2 separate regions of the Homo sapiens genome follow, and region 2 is linked to region 1. Evidence: promoter capture Hi-C in 16 types of primary human blood cells and fetal thymus (Javierre and others, 2016). All regions are on one chromosome and are shown on one strand. Each heading gives the region's core, a stretch centred on a gene start or on the middle of the fragment in contact. The rest is flanking DNA. Distances are from core to core; before and after follow the strand shown. Region 1 holds the start of TRPC7-AS1 (TRPC7 antisense RNA 1). Region 2 has its middle 10 kb from the start of TIFAB.

Region 1 (4,647 bases), core at 956-3,455:
AAGATACGTCCTGAAAGCCCAGGTGGACAGAGAAAATGACGAAGTCAATGAAGGTAAATGACTGGATTTCCACCCACGTGGTGATTTAAAACAACACAGGTTCTGTGGGTCTCACTGGGCTACGGCCACAGTGTTGTCAGGGCACTGTGCTCCTTTCCAGAGGCTCCAGGGAGGCTCAGTCTCCTTGCTCATTCAGTTGTCGGCAGAGTGCATTTCCACGGGGCTGCAGGCCTGTCCCTGTTGCCTTGCTGGCCACAGCTGGGCTGCCCTGAGCTCCAGCACTTGGTCTGTGCATACAGCCCCACCACCTCAGAGCTGGCAGCAGGCATCAGGCACCCTCACACTCCATTTGCCCTGCCTCATCTTCCATTGTCCCATCTCTGACCCCACTCTTCTGCCTTCCTCCTCCACCATTTTTTTTTTTTTTTTTGAGATGGAGTCTCACTCTGTTGCCCAGGCTGGAGTGCAACGGCACAATCTCGGCCCACTGCAACCTCTGCCTCCTGGGTTCAAGTGATTCTCCTGCCTCAGCCTCCTGAGTAGCTGGGATCACAGGTGTGTGCCACCACGCCCAGCTAATTTTTGTATTTTTTTAGTAGAGATGGGGTTTTACCATGTTGGTCAGGCTGGTCTCGAACTCCTGACCTTGTGATCCGCCCATCTCAGCCTCCCAAAGTGTTGGGATTACAGGCATGAGCCACTGCGCCCGGCCCCTCCTCCACTTTTAAGGACTCATGTGATTGAATTGGTTCCACCAGGACAATCCAGAATAATCTCCTTCTGTTAAGGGCAGCTGATCAGCAACCTGAATTCTATTTGCCACCTCAGTTCCCCTTTGAGGAGAAACAGTCATGTTTCCCACAGGCAGAACATCAGGGATCAGGACGGGGACATCTTGGGAGTAGGGGACATTCCTCTGCCTCCCACAGCAATGGCAGCCTTGAGCCAACCTCATGCCTCTTGAGTGCAGGATGGTTCAGAATTCCAATGCTGTACTTCATTCCATGGTGCACATCCACTGAGCAGATGCACACTGCGTTTAGGGTCTGCCGCCGCTTGCTTCTAACTGGCCCTGTCCAGTCTCAGTGGGAGGTTCTCAGCATCTAACTGACAGCCGTGTTTCTCAAAGTGTTCCCCACCTCAGAACTAGCTGTTAAAACTACAGATCCCAGACCCCACCCAGACCTAATGAATCAGCATCTCTGGAGTGGGGTCTGGGGATCTGCTTTTGGAAAACTGCACCAAGGGTCTCTGATATACACTGAAGTTTACCAACTATATTATTTTCACTGTTTGGGTTGTTTTCCAGTCTATTTTAAGCAGTTACTCTTAGATGAAAAGCAAATTACTTTATGCCAGGTAATTAATGAGATACTTATGACAAATATTTGCCACCTAGAAACAGCCTCATCCATGATTGAAGTTTCTGTTCTCCTAGCTTGGGCCACAGGGAACTACAGAAAGAGCCTGGTCATTGGGTGACCCTCTGCTTCATCCTGGGGCACCCAGCATGCAGCTCGAAGCTCAGCCATAACTGAACTGCCCCTGAGCTGACATGGTTTAGGGGCAGACAACAGCCCACCTACCTACTTGTAGGTCTCAAACAATGGCCAAGTGTCAGGCCAGCCAGCCTCAAGCAGTATGTAACTGATTCATGTGAATATCACTGATCATAGAAGGTGGGGGTATCCAGGTGTCATGGCACTTAAATTACACCATGAAACGGGGGCTCAGTGAAGCATCTGATAAAAACAGGGGGTGTATCCATTTGTCAAAATGGATCAAACTGTACCTTTAAGATCTCTGCCTTTTATGTGTATAGACCATACCTGAAAAATAGACGAGTAATGTTTCCACAGACAGTGGACTCCCACACGAGCCAAGTGCAGTATCTACAGTATTAGGAAAGATCCTTTTGACATCTGTTTGTGGTTAATAAGAAGATTCCCACAGCCTAGACCCATTGGACTTCTAACCACAAGGTTCTCTGTGGAAATAAAAGTGAAAGTCCCTGCTAGGTGGTCCCTCGTTATGGAAGGAGGAGGCGGCAGGCATTGACGAAGCTCCTGTCAGCGAGGTGGTGCTGCTGCTTGTGTGGGCTGAGTGGACCGTGCTCAGGTGGCCAGCTCACTCCCAAGAGGCTGGTCAGCTCCATGGCCACCACGGCTGCATCTGCTGTGCCGAGCCATTCTCTCCAGGCTCCTGGGAGTTTCTCCTCCCTACAAATAACAATGACAGAACAAAACATAGCATCATCAAAAGCAATGCTCTGGTTAATGGGGTTGTTTTCCAGAGTCTTGAAATCTGCCTTTAGTGACTCTGAAACAAACTTTCTAACAAGTATTTTATGAAACAAGTGCTAGACACAATTCACAGCCCTGATCTTGACTCCTCCTTCAAACCCCTAAGGGAAAGGTTTTCCTGGAATGGGAGGAGAAGGGCTTTCTATGGATCGATGTGTCCTTCAGTGGTGGGGGAGCTGGGTGGTTCTGGGTTCAAATAGAGCCCCCCTTGCCTCACCTTCAACCCTGGTGGGCTGGCCCAGGACCCGACATTCCACTGGAAGGATGCACATGCCCACATGTGCATGGGACAAGCCCCGAGCTTCCACCTACTCAGACTCAGCAAAATCTCCTCTGTCCTTGCAGGCGAGCTGAAGGAAATCAAGCAAGATATCTCCAGCCTGCGCTATGAGCTTCTTGAGGAAAAATCTCAAGCTACTGGTGAGCTGGCAGACCTGATTCAACAACTCAGCGAGAAGTTTGGAAAGAACTTAAACAAAGACCACCTGAGGGTGAACAAGGGCAAAGACATTTAGCAGCCCACATCGGCGTCTGTGACTTCTACCAGCATTCCAAGGCCAGGTTGGATGCCCTCGCCCCCATCCTTGGTGGGGAGGGGTCCCCAGCCCACTCCTCTAGGACACGAAGGGGATCTCCTGGCTCAGTCTCTTGCAGCATGACTGACATCTCCAGCCCGCTGGCCTGCCTAGACCCAGAACTGCTGTGAATCTAGGTGGTTGGGTAAGAAAAGCTACCATGGGAGGAGGGGAGGAACAGCCCCCTGACGAGTGTGAGACCTTTGGTCCAGCCACAGTGAAACCCATCCCTGTGGCCAGAGCAGGAAAAGGCCATCTTGGGTGCACACCTGTGCCCTCCCACTGCAGGTGGGACTGCAGCTCTGGCTGTGTCCTGGGAAGACAAACACCTCAACCCACAAACTCCTTCTCACTCCCTCCCTGCCACCCCCAACACATCCAAACAGAACCAGGAGGTGACCTGTGATCTATTCTTAAGTGCCAGATGAGAACACAGCCTAATAGCAAAATAGTTCTATTTGTTTATATAAAAAAAAAGTTTAAAAATCCTAAATTGAAAACTGTACTGTAGGTAGCACTGTTTAGAAAACAACAACAAAATCCAAATGATGTATTTTTACCTTTATTAAGATTATCTTGTATTTACTATTTTTACCTAAAATGGAAAGAAATAAAATTACCTCATAATAACTTCTGTGGATACGCTACCAGGGCCGCCCCACTCGCGGGCCCAGTCTGGAGGTGGCCTTGGGAACCTGTGGCCCAGGGATGCTTCGGGAGGAGAATGGGCCGATGCGGTGGGGGTTGGGTGGGGACGAAGGCACCACCCTCCTTAGAGTCATGCAGCCAGGACCCCCAGAAGCTCCAGCCTCCACCTCCAAGCCCCTCCTCCTGTGCCCAGACCTAAGGTCAGGAAGGAGGTAAAGGAAATGCAGAACAAGTGGAAAGTTTTCTCCCACCCCATTCTAGAACTTTCCTCCATGTGAAAGGAAGGGGAGGGGCAGGAATGAGGCCTCAAAGTGTCCCCCCAACCAAGGAAGAGGCTAAGTGTGAGTGGGGAGAGCAGCCACCAGAGGGCGCTGAGTCCCAAACAATGCCTGTTCGGAGCAGGTGTGCGAAGATGCCATTCATCTTCCAGAAGCTTCCAGAAGAGCCCTCTGCTCCCAAGGAAATATTCCTAGGGCTGGCCAGAAGTATTCAGCTTTTGCCGTGTACCAGGCACTGTGCTCGGGGCTTTGCATGCATCAGTCCACCGGATCCTCACAGCAACCCTGTGAGGAGGGTGATGGTTACAAATTCACATGCCTTGCAGACGTTCTAGAGGGGGGAAGATAAATATATAATAATTATATATATATATATATATGCATGTGTGTATGTGTAAATGTATATATGTATGTATATGTAGAAAGAGGGAGCTTGTGTTTCAAGACATACGTCTTTGTCTTCAGGGGCAAACATTTTTTTTACTTAACTCTGCTATAAGAAACAGCCGATCAGATGAGGCGATAAATAGAAGTGAGGTTGGTGCCAGCATTGATGGGAGTGACGAGGGACGATGACAGACTGCACAGCCGTGCCCTGCCTAAAGCAGGCTGCAGACACTCAGCTCAGCCCATCGTTGCCATAAGGAATATAAGTCCTGTTTTGCCACATCTTCCCAACTGCTGAAAAAAAGAAAAAGTCAACATTTGTTGGGCTCCTGGCCGCCAAGATAGGCAGCAGAAGATGAGACATGGCTCCATGCCTGGGCCTTCCCAACCCAATCTGCACCACCACCTAGTATTCAAGCAAGACAGAAACAGGCATTTGACAGGTACTGGGCATAC
Region 2 (4,647 bases), core at 1,352-3,851, 750 kb after region 1:
GCCCTGTTAATTTTTTTCCCTTTTTCAAAACACAAAGAATAGGCTGCTCTCAAAGATGCCTCCTACAGAAACTAAAAGTCTAATGGGCCAGGCTCATGTGTGTGATCCCAGAACTTTGGGAGGCTGAGGCAGGAAGAGGATCACTTGAGGCCAGAAGTTCGAGATCAACCTTGCAACATAGGTTGGTCTCTACAAAAAAAAATAGAAACAAAAACTAGTCAGGTGTGATGATGTGTGCCTGCGGTCTCAGCTACTGAGAAGGCTGAGGTGGAAGGATGGCTTGAGCCCCAGAGGTCAAGGCTACAGTGAGCTGTGATCACGCCACTGCACTCCAGCCTGGGCAACAGAGTGAGACTGTGTCTCAAAAAAATAAAGTAAAATAAAAATAAAATGACAACGGTTGACATTGATTTTCTGATTCCTAGTCCACGATCCTGTGTAAGCTGTGTGCCTGTTTATCCCTTCACCAGTTCCCAACAACACTGTGAGGCAGTCACCATTTTGTCTGCATTTTTTAGAGGAGGAAAATAAGTATACGAAGGTTATGGGGGTCCCCCACATTCACATAGTTAAGTGTCTGTCTCCAGATTCAAACCCAGGCAATCTGGCTTCTTAAAGCTTCACCTTTAGCTTAAAGGTAAAAGCACAGGATCTGAGATTTCAAAAATGCTGGAGTCCCATCTTGGCTAGAACACCCTGTTACAAATGTGGGTGTTGAGTTTTCGCAGCATGGCTGGAGCACGGGAGGCGCCCAGCGAAAGGGGCACCTGGGGCCAGCAAAGCCTGTAGCCAGGCAATAGTGCACCAGAGAGGCAGCCTCCCATTCCACCCCTACCTCTCTAAGGGGTGATCTCTGAGTAAGGGGCATCTGTTAGCCTTGCCCCATCTCAGGCACCATCCTCAGTGGCTCACATCCCACGACAGCCGACATCCTTCAACAGCTCCTTTATTGTCTTGGAATAGAATCCAAACCCTCTACCAGAATCTAAAAGGCCCTGCAAGGACTATCTAACCCCACCTGGTTTCCAGCCATCTCTCTGTTACTGCTCTTCCCTTCGCTTGCAGGCAGTTCCCTGTCTAACCAAGGCTGCTGCTTCAGGGCATTTGCACTCAGGACCTCTCGGCCTGCTGCCTTACTCCCTTCAGCCTCTGATGAACCAGAATCTCCCCAGGGGGGGTTTCTGAATGCACAGTCATCCCCCACCGCAGCTACATGCTCACCATTCCTATTCGTTTCCTCCTTCCTTTCCAGACTGTCTCTAGAATGCAAGCTTCCTGAAGGAAGGCTTGCCAAACGTGATAGGCTTAGTAGTGGCCCCAAAGACACACCCACTTCCTAAACCCTGGAACCTGTGACTGTCACCTCATGTGGCAAAAGATGGGATCAAATTAAGGATCTTGAGATGGGGAGATTTCCCTAGATTATCTGGATTGACCCTAAATACAACGACAGTATCCTCATCACAGGAAGGTGGTGGGAGATTTCACACTCGGAGAAGAAGGCCACATGAAGATGGAGCAGAGAGATTTGCCCCAATAGAGAGACCCTGAGCACTCCAGTCTGTCTGGAACTAACACCAGCCACCCAGGCTATCTGCCCCATGCCCCAACTCACGTGTAGACTTTGGCTCCTTCATGGTGATTTCTGTTATTTGGTTCTGCGGGGGCTCATGTCCTAAGGAAAAAATTACATTTTGGCTAACTAGGGTTTACCACACCTCACAAAAGGATTGCAAACTCAAAGGCTTACAGGAGCCTAGAACATAAAATAAATATATACGAAACAGGACTGGGGGAACTGAGGCAAACTGGGATGGAGCGCCAAGCGTCTGCACCAGCAGACGAGTGCCCTGCAGGAACCCGAGCCCAGGCCAGCCTCATCTCCTGACTTTTCAGCTGAAGCTGCAAAAATTGAGGGTTTTATTTCCAGGCTTCCAATTTTAAAATGTTGACAACTTGGACAAAATGTATACAATACCACACTGTGTGGCCCATAGTAGCTGCTAGTTTCTTCTTTGCGGACAGGGACCCACTGAGGCAGAAGGCACCAAATCCAGGTGGCTCCTAGCTTGATTGGGGTGCCTGTCCTGAACATTAGGACCACTTTCCCTGCAGGATCCATGGGGGAATTCGATTCTCCCAAGTGAAAACATCAGAATTCAGTTGAATTCCGATGCAGCTGCACGTCTGCAACAAACACTTCCAACAAATAATAGAGTTGTGACATTCATCATTCCAACAATGAGAACAAATACCAGAATTGAATAAAAAGTTGTGTCCTTGATTTTCCTGGGTGCTGTTGTTGGAAGGCGGGGGTGGGGGGCACCTCAGCTCCTATCTAAAAAATCATCCAGGCCAAGCAGTTGTCAATTAAAGACTGAGAAAGGGAGGAGGGAAAGGCAGCCCTACTCACATCTCGCAGGGCAGCTCTCCACCTGAGCTGAGGTGGGCAGAGTTAATTCCTCCAAGAGCCTTCAGCCTTGAAGAGGTGACATGGAGGTAGCTCTAGCCCTGCAGGGGGAGCAACTATGCCGAGTCCCTGAGAGCTGCCTGAGGGTGGGGACAGCTGTCCCCACCGAGCGTCGCGTCCTCTGAAAACACACAAGCAGGCAATTTCCTGTGCACAAAAGTTGCCCAACAGTGCCCCCTAGCACTCATAATGACATACCTTCTTAGAGTAGGGCCTGGGAGGTTTTAGAAAGTTATCTGAGAGAAGAGACTAGGGAAAAATCTGGTTCTCCAAGTCATACTTGCCAACAACATTTGGGTGTGTTGGGGTTGGCGAGCAGGAGTGGGTAGGGGATGGGGGGGAAAGGAAGGCAGATTAAGGGTGGCATTTATCAAGCACTGGCCCTAGCATTCGTGCCAGGGTTCCCTGTTTCCAGGAGGACCAGATCATGGCTTACACTGAAGACACATTAAGGCTTGCCAAGGTTGAGCTGAGAGCCCCCAGGCTTGATTTAAAGGTGTTGGAGGCATTCCATGGTCTGTGGCAATCCCATCAGCAGTAGAACTTACCTGCAAATGGCTGAGCCACGATGGCCCTGAGCCTCAGTTAGAACCTCTGCAGCTCTACAAGCCACTTCTTACTGCAGATGGGCCCATAGGAAAGTATGTGCCCATCCCATGCCATGGCCAGCCAATTGCAGGCAGACAGCTAAAGGCCAAACACCAATGACAGGTTCTGAGGTAGGTTCCCAACACGTACACAGCAGACACCCTTCAGGTAAATGGCCAACAAAAAGAAACAGCCAAAGTCACTAAGTGAACCACTGGGTGACAAGTTGCCCAGGCCCAGTTGGTGATTTATGGCTCATGAGGTGATGCAGTCCCAGGGAGCTTCTGGAAAACTACTTGGAGAGAGCTCTGTAGGCAGGATTGCTCATTTTCTCATCACTTTTCCATTTTCATGATATAGATCCCCCCTGGGGCAGAGGGAGGAGGAAAATGCTTTTTATATTATGGTAGTGGCCATGTGGAAAAGACATATTTCCCTCAACATTCGATTCCGAATGAAAACGCACGTTTGTAAAGCATATGTGAAACATGTCATGCACGAAAGGTATGAAATATTTATTGTCATGGCTTGGGTTCGTTTTGTGAAATATCACAGGACAGGGAGAAAACTGTTAAAAGTGAGAAACTGCTGGGGAGAATGGGAGCTGCTGGCCTTAAGGATACCTTCACAAAGCAAGGCAGCAGACAGTGCTGGGAACAGAGTGGGGTGGCTGGAATATAGATTCATGTGTGCTTGTACTCGCATCAAGACTCTCTGGAAGGATACACAGGACACCATTACAGCAGTTACCTGTGGGGAGGAGTGTGAGAGAGACTTTCCTCTCTACTTTTTATTTTGAAAAAAAAAAAAAAAAGTGAACTATGTGAATATGTTACCTTTTCAAAATGGGATATAAAAATAAAACAAAGCTTTTCATTTTGGAAGGCTCAATCATTGAAGAGAACTAAAACATTCAGAGCATATTTTGATGTAAAAATTTTAAAAATCTCAAAAACTAAATTTCCTCCCTCTAGCCATCCCTTTCTGTGTATCCAAAGGTTGTCCATCAGCTATGCTCCAATTGCTGCTTATCTGCTTCTCCAGCTCCCAGTCCTCTCTCTCAGGGCTGTCTTCCCCACAGCAACACCCCAGCCCCATGCTGCTGTCCTTGGCTCTTGGCTTTTGTTCTGCACTCTGAGAACGTGGAGGGCTGACCATGGCACTTCTCAGTGCAGCAGTTCTGTGGAGCCGGCTCAGCAATCAGTCTCTCTCAGTGAACAAATCTGCAGCCGGGGAGCCCAACAGGGTGAGGTGCAAGCTTGAGAAGTCTTTCCAACCCTTGAAGAGTTTGCAGTTCGGCTGGGAAAAGGAGACCCTGTTGTCTTTCAATATCTATTTCCCCTTCTCCTATAATAATAGAACCCTCCTTTTGTCATTGATCACACAGCTCCCAGGCACCCTGACAGCTAGGACTAGCCATTCCCTGAGACCAGCCAACAGGATGCAAGCAGAAGTGATTGGGCAATTTCCAGGACGCATCTTCCGAAGGAAAGGATGTGCTCCACGCTTGCCCCCTGCCAGTTCCCCCTGTTTGGATGTGGGTATGGTGGGGGTGAGCCATGTGAGGCCACATGGGCAAGGGCAATGCT

Evidence for each region. The method cuts DNA at HindIII sites, captures the fragments that hold promoters and counts their contacts. A CHiCAGO score of 5 or more calls a contact.
Region 2: a fragment that was not itself captured here is called in contact with the fragment with the promoter of TRPC7-AS1 in region 1 in 3 of 17 cell types (naive B cells, total B cells and total CD8 T cells); the score reaches 8.0 in naive B cells.

Annotation. Positions count from the first base shown.
Region 1 is chr5:136,211,606-136,216,252 of GRCh38, reverse strand. TRPC7-AS1 (TRPC7 antisense RNA 1) reads right to left here and starts at 2,205. Exons shown (of 2, transcript NR_046708.1): 1 at 1,830-2,205. It overlaps TRPC7 (transient receptor potential cation channel subfamily C member 7), which reads left to right. Exons shown (of 12, transcript NM_020389.3): 11 at 1-53; 12 at 2,649-3,508. The coding sequence ends at 2,818. The HindIII fragment of the contact is 8,916 bases long and covers 1-3,961 here.
Region 2 is chr5:135,460,406-135,465,052 of GRCh38, reverse strand. No RefSeq gene overlaps it. Among named protein-coding and RNA genes, the nearest start is that of TIFAB, 10 kb to the right of the region's middle. The HindIII fragment of the contact is 2,656 bases long and covers 1,274-3,929 here.